Regions from separate parts of the Homo sapiens genome. Here all the other regions are linked to region 1. Evidence: promoter capture Hi-C in 16 types of primary human blood cells and fetal thymus (Javierre and others, 2016). All regions are on one chromosome and are shown on one strand. The core of a region is centred on a gene start or on the middle of the fragment in contact, and the rest is flanking DNA. Distances in the headings are between cores, read along the strand shown. Region 1 holds the start of TNFAIP8L2 (TNF alpha induced protein 8 like 2). Region 2 overlaps MINDY1 (MINDY lysine 48 deubiquitinase 1). Region 3 holds the start of CERS2 (ceramide synthase 2).

Region 1 (3,417 bases), core at 85-2,584:
TTTAAATCTCCATTAAAGTTAATGGCATTGTTTGACTAGTATTACTGTTCTTTATGTTTAAGCTTATTTCCCTCGCCAGATTCCCCATAAGATTCTTGATAGCAAGTGTTTTTGTCTCATTCAACAACTGTGACTTCCAGGATGGGTGCAGTGGCTCACGCCTGTAATCCCAACACTTTGGGAGACTAAGGTAGGAGGATTGCTTGAGCTTAGAAGTTCAGCCTGGGCAACATAGTTAGACCCTCCTCTCTACAAAAAAAAGGAAGGCTTGTGAGCCTCTGGTCCCAGCTACTTGGGAGGCTGAAGTAGGAAGAGCTCTTGAGCCCAGGAGGTCAAGGCTGCAGTCAGCTGTGATGATGCCACTGCACTGTGGCCTGGGCGACAGAGTGAGACCCTATCTCAAAAACAAAACAACAAACAAACAAACAAAACCCAATTGTGGCTTCCCCTCATTTTGTATCCCTTTAGCAGCTACAAAGTAGCTACTACAGTAGCCTACTCAGTAGGCCCTGCGGGGTGCGTTGGCTCACACCTGTAATCCCAGCACTCTGGAAGGCCAAGGTGGATCACCTGAGGTCAGGAGTTCAAGACGATCCTGGCCAACATGGTGAAACCGTCTCTACTAAAAATACAAAATAAGCCAGGCATGGTGGCACAGGCCTGTAATTTCAGCTACTTGGGAGGTTGAGGCAGGAGAATCACTTGAACCCGGGAGGCAGAGGTTGCAGTGAGCCGAGATCACCCCATTGCACTCCAGCCTGGGCAACAAGAGCAAAACTCTGTCTCAAAAAAAAAAAAAAAAAAAAAAAAAAAGGCAACTCAGTAGGCTTGTTCCTCTACGCTAGTGATTCAGTGCTGTGCTGGCACCTGCTGGTCACCTGTGGTGCAGCAGCCCTGGTCCCAGCACCTTCCTCCCTTCAGTATTAAGGGTTGTGACAGTCTGTGCTCTTACCTGGCAATCACTGGAATAATATATTAAATACTTGCCCCACAGCACCACCTTTCAATCTTCAGAACTTTTCCCACTGACCTCCTACCCCAGAAATTTGGGCTTTACATCCTTCCCAGTACTGTAGAAATGTAAGGACAGGATCTTCAGGAACTGGGCAGCAAGAAAAGAAAGAAGCAATTTGAGAGTGGAGGATGCAAATCCCTTTCCCCCCTTCAAAGAATTGAGACTATTTCCAACAGAATTCCACTCTTTTTGACCTTTGTCTTATTTCTAGGTTGCTCTTGGGCCATAGGCCTTCTTGGTGACAGAAGTGATGAACCGGAGGTTAAGCAGAGAGTAGGTAGGCGGGGCTCAAGGGGTGGGGCCAAGCCAAAGGGCTCTCACACTAAGTGAAGCTTCTCCATTCTGTAAGCTTTCCGGGAACATCCAAGGCAAGACTGGCACCCAGCACAGCAGGTGAGGGACCGGCAGTGACAGAATGGTAGACTTTAGGGGTAATGGTGGCAGAGGAATCTCTAGCTCTTTCAGTCTTAGCTTTTCATATTGTGAAACTCTCGCTTGTACAATTCTTGGGTCCTTTGTAGAGCTTAGCTTAGTTTTTCTGGTGGCAAGGCAGCCTCTGAAAGACCTGGTTTTGGATGCGGTGGGGGCAGGGCTGAGGGATGCAGGTGGATCCACATCCATATGGATGTGTGCGAAATGCAAGGAAATCTTAGGAAACAAGGAGATAGATGGGTAAGGGCCAGAGGGAGAGTATGGCCAGGCCAGAGGATCATAGGGAGGACCCAGACAAGAGAAAAAGGGAGACTGAAACAGGGAGAGAGGGAGAAGACAGCGGAATAAATGTGAGACGGCAATGGGGGCAATGGAGAGCTGGGTAACAGGAAGGCCAAGGAGGAAGGAAGGCTCACATGGAGCAATCTCCTCTTCCGGCTGGGGAGCATGGTCCAGAAAGCCCCAAGGCAAGCTGGGAGCAAAGCAAGGTTCAGGTTTCCACTGGAAGGATTCAGCTGGGGAAAAAAACCCCCACAGTCTCCACCTCCTCTGCCTCTTCAGACTCCCATTTTGGTTTGGGGGAGAGGGCGAGGCTGCTCCTCACTGCGGTCACAGCCACATCCTGCAGAGCAGAGGAGGGGGAAGTAAGAAGCAAAACAACCAGAAGAACCACAGGCGAAGACCATGGGGAGAGAACCCTGGACACATGGAGCTGATATGCCACCAAGAGGGTCCTGAGTTCAGTGTAGCAGAAGGCTCAGACCTTCAGGACTGCCTGCCCTTCTTGAGGTGTTGGCTTCTCGTGCTTCCTCAGTGTGCTTTAACCACACTGGGAGCATTCCGGGGAAGGAGGTTTCTCTGGATTATTTGGTTTGAAGCCCATCTTTATAATTTACTAGTGACTTTGGCCAAATTGCTATATTTCTCTTCGCTTCAGTTTTCTCATTGCAAAATGGGGATACCTACCCTAACCTTACACAGGATTGGGAAGGCTAAGATGACTGACGTAAAGCACTTGCATATAGTAGGTTCTCAGTAAATGTTAGTTATTACTCCTATTAGGATTCCTGGGATGCTTATGCTTCTTACTTTAAAGGAAGTATAGTGCACTAGCTGCCACTGGCTTTGGGGGCCAAAAAATGAGTTGCGTTTGATCTTGGGTAAATTACTTAATGTAAGTATCATTTGCTTAGCTGTAAAACAAGGATGGTAATATCTATGCCACACAGACATATGGCACAGAGTCAGTGTCCAAAAATGGTAGCTGTAAGAATTCTGTCAGGCTGGGCGTGGTGGCTCACGCCTGTATTCCCGGCACTTTGGGAGGCCGAGGTGGGCAGATCATGAGGTCAGGAGTTCGAGACCAGTCTGGCCAACATGGTGAAACGCTGTCTCTACTAAAAATACAAAAATTAGCCGGGCGTGGTGGTGGGTGCCTGTAATCCCAACTACTTGGGAAGCTGAGGCAGGAGAATAGCTTGAACCCGGGAGGTGGAGGTTGCAGTGAACAGAGATCACACCACTGCACTCCAGCCTGGGTGACAAAGCAAGACTCCGTCTCAAAAAAAAAAAAAAAAAGAATTATCTGTCAGGTAAGCCCTGTCTTCACTGCAGCAGCAACAGCCTACTTCCCCTTGAGATGTAACTTGTGCTAGGCTAGCCTCCCGTGTGCCCACATTCCTCCAGCCGGGGCTATCGCCACTCCCGTGGGCTGTTTTGGAGTCAAGATTTGCTACAGCACTAAGGGGAAAAAGCAGGCAGGAGCAAGGCATAGAGGACTGAGGGGCCCCAGGGGGCGGAGAGGATGACAAACAAAGATGATGATGACATGGAAACTAAAGAAGCAACAGAAAAGGGAAAAGCCATTTCTCTCTTTCTAAGGAAGCCTGTGGCCTTTCTTCTAGTGACTGACCACATACCCCACTCTCCAGGACCCATGGAGTCCTTCAGCTCAAAGAGCCTGGCACTGC
Region 2 (3,843 bases), core at 1,098-3,597, 160 kb before region 1:
CCACCTTCTGCTCCAGGCCCCTTGCCCAGGGAATGACTCAGGTGAAAGTCAGAGTCACAAAAGCAGCTGTCTCCATCCACATTGTGCAGGCTCTCCCATACGACTTGCTCCTCCTGTAGAAAGCCCTGGTCAGTGACCAGTAGGTATAAGTGACTCTACAAAGAAAAGAACAGAGCTCATTGGGGGGACAGTTGATACGGAGGCAGTTCACTGCCAGAAATCTCGGTATGAGCATGTGGACTTTTTTTTTCTTGGAGATGGAGTCTCGCTCTGTCATCCAGGCTGGAGTGCAGTGGCACAATCTCTGCTCACCGCAAGCTCTGCCTCCCAGGTTCACACCATTCTCCTGCCTCAGCCTCCCAAGTAGCTGGGACTACAGGCACCCGCCACCATGCCTGGCTAATGTTTGGTATTTTTTTAGTAGAGACGGGGTTTCACCGTGTTAGCCAGGATGGCCTCGATCTCCTGACCTCATGATCTGCCCGCCTCGGCCTCCCAAAGTGCTGGGATTACAGGCATGAGCCACCGCACCCGGACCCTGAGCATGCGGACCTTTTACAAATATGTGTGGCCTTGGGGGGAAGAAAGGGATGTCTGAGTGTATGTCCAGTTGGGTGTGAGCACGGTGGTCATTCTGGCTAAGCGTGGCATGGAGTCGTTGGGGCTGAGATGCCACATAAGACCCTGCTCCCCCCATTTCCCATTGTTCTCTGGGCTTGCCTGATGGCTCTTAGGATAAATCCTTTGAGAACCAGAGACCCCTCCCTCTGCTGCTCAAATCCTAGAGAGCTTTGGCAGTTTCTAACTTTTGAAGACCAGCATTGTTTAAAAATTCCACTGCCCCCTCCTAGGGGAGGATCATACTTTCCTGTCCCATCGACGGCAGGCTTATCCCTTATGGCTTGCTCTGGCCAGAAGATGTGAGCAGAAATGACATGTGTCATTTCCAAACAGAAGCTCTAAGCATGAGTGCACAGTGCCCCTCTCTCTCTCTGTTCCCACATATATTCCAGATAAAGGATCTTTTGTCAGCTGGGTCCCAGAGTGAAGATGGTGTGGGACAGAACCGTAGCCAGTCCACAGTGGACACGCACCAGGAGCGGGAAATGAACCTTTGTTGTGGTAAACCACAGGGATTTGAGGGGTCACTTGCTACCACGGCTTAATCTAGCTGATCCCAGCTGGACCCACGAGAAAAAGGCACCAGGAAATGACAGCACCGCAGCACGCCACCCCCAAACTCGCATTACCTTATGCTTAGTCATGGTGCTAAAGTGGTTGTTTCGGAAAAAGACGCTAAGTTCACCCTCCTTAGCAGCTGCTGTCAGCTCACACAGTCCGTGGTAGGTCAGCTGGGCCGCGGTGGTCTCCAGGAACTGCTCTGCAATCAGGCCTGCCAGAAAGGGACGAGTCGGGGGAAACTTGGCTTAAATTCAAGGTCCACAACAGGAAGGACCATCCAGAGAGCCCCTGTCAAAAGCCCCGGGGGGTCAGTCCCACCTTCTGACGTCCCTTTCTTGAAACCTGGCTGTATTCATTCACTTAACAAATACTTATAATAGAGCAGCTACCTTGTGCCAGGCACTGGGGATACCTCAATGAACTAAACAGAAATTCCCCAAGCTCCTTCTTGTGAAGCTTATATCTAGTGGGATGTGGTAGGAGATGACACCCAATAAAAAATAAGCCTAAGTAGCTGTCATTCCCTCCACATACTATCCATGAGAAGGGGAGGAATGTCACCTTCTGTCACGAGGTTGGTGTCACTGGAGTGTTTGCAGGTGATGATCCTCTCCACCAGCTGGTTGTAACTCAGTTTCCCAACTGCACGCACAGCCTCAGGACTCTGCTTGGGTAGTGGGATGTGGGATACCAAAAAAATTGGGATTTTTTTTTCTTTTTTAAGGAAGGAAATGAACAAAGCTCACAAGGACTACAACCCTGTGATGAATGGTTCCTAAACACTTTTTTTTTTTGGTCTCTCAAAAAAGAAAAAAATTTCAGGAACCATTCATCATAGGGTTGCTATGTTGCCCAGACTGGCCTCGAACTCCTCCCAAGTAGCTGGGAATACAGGCATGTGCCACCAAACCCATCTGCTTCCTGAATTTTTGATGTCTAAAGAACTGACCTATTTGCATGTAGTTTGCTTGTATTTGCATGTTACCCCCAAAATAGATTAAAATTCAAGGAATTCTGTACTGGGTCCAGTCTCTAAACACTATTTCCCTCCCAAGCCAATCTAACCCCTAACTCCCTAACCTCTACCCGACAAAAATTTGCCTCTCTCATGTCAGCTTGAGCTGGATAAGGTCCCAGTGGGCCCTCCCACCCTCACCTGTGGATCAACAAGCCAGCCATGGTACAGAGGTATGCCTAGCAGGTCAAAGACACTGCACTCGGGTGTATACTCAAAATCAGAGACGCCTGTGAATCGCACATTGACATCCAGACCTGTGGCCAGTTTAGGCAGCACTGTCATTGCATCATCCACATTCTGGGGGTAGAAAAAAAAATGATGGAGATTCTAGCCTTCTCTCCCACCACTCCACTCCCACCTGCAGAAATTAAAAATTAACCTTGCTGCTCTTCTTCCCTGATTCTCTTACAAGCCACTCCATTTCTCCCTTGCCTCAACCCTTCTCTATCTTATATAAATGAACATTGTTTTTCTTTGAGAGTCTAAGTCTAATTCTTTCATCCAGGCTGGAGTGCAGTGGTGTGATCCTAGCTCACTGCAGCCTCAAACTCTTGGTTTCAAGTGACCCTCCCACCTCAGCCTCCTGAGTAGCTGGGACTACAGGCACGCACCGCCATACCTGGCTAATTCTTGAAAAAAAAAATGGTTTTTTTTAGAGACAGGGGTATTATTATGTTGCCCAGGCTGGCCTCGAACTCCTGGCCTCAAGTGATCCTCCCGCTTTGGCATCTCAAAGTGCTGGGATTACAGGTGTGAGCACCCGGCCAATGAACATATTTTCTAGGACAAAGATAAACTCTCCTCTGACTCCTGCAGAATGAAATCATGGTTCAAGGAAACCTCTGAAGAAGCAACAAAAGCTTATCTTAGTATTACAAGATGTCCCCTTACAAACCTGCAAACCCCTATGCCTGCAGACCTTTTGCCTCACCTGCTGAAAATTAAGCTGAAGTCCCTCTGACTTCTCCTGGGGCTTGATGGACAGGAGGCAGTTTCCTACAAGACAGGGCCCCTTATCAGCTTACCCCACCAATCATCCCAAAAGCTAAGTTTCCTCTTCTCCTGGAGAATGCGGGTAATGTCACAGAACACAGATTTTCAGAGCTGGAAAATACTTAGAGTCTAATCCAGACTCTTCATTTCTCAGAGGAGGCGACAGCCTCATAAAGGTGAACGGCCCACCCAGGGTCAGATACAAAAGCTAAGGGCAGAATTGGTGTTACAACCCAGGACTCCCGACGCCTTTGCTTTTCATTCTCCAGCCTTGCAGAGAAGCCCCATAGACCCTTACCCTCCCTGCTGTATCAGAACCCCCAAATGGAGATCCCTGAATAGTCTGGATTTCTGGCTGAGTGGATAGCTCTGGAGCCCCTTGGGTAATTCCTCTTCAACGCCCAGTCACTCACCAAGATGGGCCATGAGCTCATCCGATGTGATCACTTCCTTCTGCGGGGGGAGCTTCACCTGGAGGCAGAAGGGGTGATCACGTGTGTGCTTTCCTCCAAAGAGCACTGAAGGAAGAACCCATGGAAAGGCAAGGGGGAGCTCCAGTAGTAGGGTGGGGTAGGAAAAAAGGCTTGCAACTGGCACAAGGGAATGAATGTGAAATCTTGCAAGGCATGTGCATTTGCTAGGGAGTAGGA
Region 3 (3,683 bases), core at 363-2,862, 180 kb before region 1:
AAAAGAGGTGGGTGAGAGGCAGTCAGAACAGTAGTCCTCAGCCTCATCTGGCCTACAGCTTGTCTGCAAAGTCCCACCAAAGGCCTCCACGGACCAAAACACTGCATGAGACTATGGCCCCAGGGGCAGGGAGACGCCGGTGGGTTTGAGAGACAGCTGGGGCGGTGTTGAAGGACACAGTGAGGGATCAGCCAGCCTATGGCCAGTGACAGGGGTAAAAGGAGGCCCTTCCTCCCAGGGGAAAATCTGGCCAGAGGCCCCAGTGAGGGAAGTGGGGGACCAGGGGAGAAAAGGATCCCTCTCTGGAACAGACTGTGCAGATCACGGTATGGTCAGCGCCAGGTCCTCAGGGACAGGACTGCAGGCAAGTCCTTACCCTTAGGAGCCCCTTTACATGTGCAGCCACTCACACCCCGGTGCGGTCATCCCGACTCCGGTATGCGGCAGCAACCGCCACCCACCCCTGCCCCAGCACAGATATGGGGGTGACTGCCTGCTGGAGGCCTGCTCGGACTCACTTCTCCAGGAACAGGGGCTCACTGCATTCGCCACGATCCTCAGAACCCCCTGAACCTGGGCCTGGCAACTCAGGTGACTGAAACCAGGTTTTGATGCCAGGAGCTAGGCTTAGGGAGGGAGAGACTCCAACTGCAGGCTAAAGATGAGTGCTCTACACCTGCAGTCAACCCACTTGCCACGGGCCTCTAGTGATTAACAAGCTACGGCCCAGAAAGCCAGTTCCACCAGGAGCTCCCTTGCCAGCCATCCACACCTCATAACGGTATGCCTTAGCCCTACCGGGCCGGGGCAGGCGCTCCGGGCCGCTCCTTCCTGTTTCCCGTTAAGCACATGGAAGCTCTGACCTCGCCTGCGAGGTGGGCACGGTGGGCCGGTAGGAAGAAAACGGGGCAGGGCCCTCCCCTCTCCTCCCACCCAAGCCACAGGACGCGTCCAGGCCAGGGCAACCCCGCGGGCCGCTGCCAGGGTGGAGGCTCTCGCGCCAATGGTCACCAAGCTCCTCCACTCCCCAACAAAGGGAAGCCCACGGCTCGGCCCCGTCGCCCGCAGCCCCCGCGTCCCCACCTTCCGCCCTACCTGTTGCCCGGGAAAGCTTCTCCGGCTCAGGGCGGCGCTGCCGCGGACACCGCGGCGCCAGGCCCGCCGGCCCCGGCCGCTCCCTTGAGGCGCTGCGCCCGCCTTACCCGGCGGCCGCCGCCATGAGCGCCCGCAGCGCCCCCCGCCAGCGCCGCCTCCCTCCTCGCCCCGGCCCCGCGGCCTTCCCAGCCCGACCCCTCCGCGGCCCCGCGACAAAGCGGCACCCGGGGCTCCCAACTTTTCCGCAGCCCCTTCCCACCCCCGCGCGGGGCTCGGGCGCCGGGCGGGGGCCCCGACTCACCCGGCGGCAGCGTTGGCGGGGCCGGGGCCGCTGCTCCGTGTACTCCGTCTGCTCGGGTGGTTGCTCCGAGGCCCCGAGGCCTGGCTCCCCGCGCCTCTCCTCCCTCTTCCGCCCGCCCGCCGGCCCGCGCCCGCCCTCGCCCTCCCTCCTCCGCCAGCCGCCGGCGCCGCCGCCGCCGCCCGCCGAGCCCAGTCGAGCTGAGCCCGAGCCCAGCCGGGAAAAAAAGGCCGCGAGCAGCCCAAGGGCCGGGAGGCTGGGCGTGACGGGAGGGGAGGGCGGGGCGGGCCTCTGCGCTGCGGCTGCCCCTTCGCCCCGGCGCGGGAGGCCAGACCCCAACCCTCCGCTCCCGGCCCCACAGCCGCGTCCACGCCCGTCACCTTGCGCTAGAGAAACCGCCGACCTGGGGAGGCGGGTGCGGGCTCCTTCCGCCACTTCGGTCTCTTTTCGGGGTGGGAGGTCTCCCACTGGGACCGACACAGACGCACTGGATGCCGCGGGGTCCCGGGCTCCGAGCGGCGGTGTCCCTGTCCCCTTACTCCTACCCACCCCCACCCACCCCCAACTGCTGTGCGGCCCCCGGTCCCCGCCAGGGTGGGCACATTCCCACTTCCAGCCCCACGGGGCGCGGGCGGAGGAGGGTGCAGCCCGGGGATCCTGCCCAAGTGCCTCGCGCCGAAGCTGAAAACCTCTCCAGGGCAGACCGAAGCAGCCGACCCTCGAGACCCAGTCGGAGCCTGCGATCACTCGGGCGACCCTCGCCTACCCCGCCGTAAAAGCCGCGGCCTTTCCACCTAGGTGCTACGGGACCTACCCCCGTGGCAAGGAAGAGCAAACCCGAACTTGCGCACACCCGGCGGCCCTGTCTGAAAGAGCCACCCCAACTTTTGTTTTGTAAAATGTATGAGTTTTCAAATGACACCACGTTTATCCGTATTCGATTTCGTGTTAAAAAGTGTTTTCCGGCCGGGCGCGGTGGCTCACGCCTGTAATCCCAGCACTTTGGGAGGCCGAGGCGGGCAGATCACCTGAGGTCAGGCGTTCGAGACCACCCTGGCCAACATGGTTAAACCCTGTCTCTACTAAAAATACAAAAATTAGCCGGGCACGGTGGCTCGCGCTTGTAATCCCAGCTACTCGGGAGGCTGAGCCACGAGAATCGCTTGAACCCTGGAGGTGGAGTTTGCAGTGAGCCGAGATCTCGCCACTGCACTCCAGCCTGGGCGACAGAGTGAGACTCCGTCTCAGGAAAAAAAAAAAAAAAGTGTTCTCCCCTTGGCCTGGCGCCGTGGCTTATGCCTGTAATCTCAGCACTTTGGGTGGCCGAGGTGGGCAGATCACTTGAGGTCAGAGTTCAAGACCAGCCTGGTCAACATAGCGAGACCCCCAACTCCTTTATAAATTTAAAAAAAAAAAGTTTTCCCCTTGAGTCGTGTGGTAAAATTACTGTTTCAGAAGTAATTACTGTTGGAAGATGCAACATGGTTTTCCTAGAAAGCTGGTCTTAACTCCTAACGTGAACGAGTGGTGACTAAGATGTATTTGAGGGCTCCTATACAGGGAGAGCTGCAGCTTACTCCATGGAGAGGTACTTTTGTCAAATTTCTCACCTAGATGAAGTATTGCCTTTTTTATGCTGTTGCAATCAGAGCCTCTGACAGTAGCTTGTTTCCCCGTTTATCTGGTCAAGTACTCGTAGGAAGGAGTGCAACCCCCACTAATCCAGTTGGAGGGCCCATCCCTCATCTCAGGCCCTTTCTGGAGGGTAAGGAGGTAGAGGCTGTCCGACCCAACTGTTTGTTCTGCCTCTCTTTTCAGGGGGACCCGCAGCCCTGACACACCATGGGAAAGATGAGAGTGGTGGCCCCTAACCAGCTCCCAGGGTTTCTCTAGGCTTTTCTAAGCCCCAGGCCTGCCTGATCTCCCAGTTTCCAGCAACCCCTCCAGCTGTGTTTTTCTCCTCCCTCCCTTATTAGCATATCTTCCATTGTATCTTTCTTTCCTTTCTTTTTTTTTTTTTTCCTTTGGAGAGGAGGTCTCACTCTGTCACTGCAGCCTCGACCTTCCAGGCTCAAGCTATCCTCCACCTCAGCCTCCCAAGTAGCAGGGACCACAGGCGACGCCACCATGCCCGGCTAATTTTTGTATTTTTGAGATTTCACCATGTCGCTCACGCTGGTCGTGAACTCCTGAGCTCAAACCATCCACCCGCCTTGGCCTTTCAAAGTGCTGGGATTACAAGCATGAGCCACCTTGCATCCCAATTGTCTCTTTCTACCCCCTTGGAACT

Evidence for each region. The method cuts DNA at HindIII sites, captures the fragments that hold promoters and counts their contacts. A CHiCAGO score of 5 or more calls a contact.
Region 2: a contact is called between a fragment that was not itself captured here and the fragment with the promoter of TNFAIP8L2 in region 1, in 7 of 17 cell types (megakaryocytes, M2 macrophages, erythroblasts and 4 more). The highest score is 9.6, in megakaryocytes.
Region 3: the fragment with the promoter of CERS2 here is called in contact with the fragment with the promoter of TNFAIP8L2 in region 1 in 7 of 17 cell types (naive CD8 T cells, total CD8 T cells, naive CD4 T cells and 4 more); the score reaches 6.7 in naive CD8 T cells.

What each region holds. Positions count from the first base shown.
Region 1 is chr1:151,155,315-151,158,731 of GRCh38, forward strand. TNFAIP8L2 (TNF alpha induced protein 8 like 2) reads left to right here and starts at 1,335. Exons shown (of 2, transcript NM_024575.5): 1 at 1,335-1,408; 2 at 3,352-3,417. The coding sequence starts at 3,384. It overlaps TNFAIP8L2-SCNM1 (TNFAIP8L2-SCNM1 readthrough), which reads left to right and starts at 1,335. Exons shown (of 7, transcript NR_144937.2): 1 at 1,335-1,408. It also overlaps a transcript of LYSMD1 not described here. The HindIII fragment of the contact is 1,285 bases long and covers 61-1,345 here.
Region 2 is chr1:150,998,119-151,001,961 of GRCh38, forward strand. MINDY1 (MINDY lysine 48 deubiquitinase 1) reads right to left here. Exons shown (of 10, transcript NM_001376665.1): 3 at 3,607-3,664; 4 at 3,132-3,196; 5 at 2,339-2,497; 6 at 1,744-1,846; 7 at 1,251-1,393; 8 at 1-155. Among named protein-coding and RNA genes, the nearest start is that of MINDY1, 6.9 kb to the right of the region's middle. The HindIII fragment of the contact is 1,422 bases long and covers 1,637-3,058 here.
Region 3 is chr1:150,973,223-150,976,905 of GRCh38, forward strand. CERS2 (ceramide synthase 2) reads right to left here and starts at 1,613. Exons shown (of 11, transcript NM_022075.5): 1 at 1,397-1,613. RefSeq lists enhancers at 1-762, 720-864, cis regulatory regions at 792, 3,623-3,683 and silencers at 968-1,457, 1,478-1,917. The HindIII fragment of the contact is 5,677 bases long and covers 1,110-3,683 here.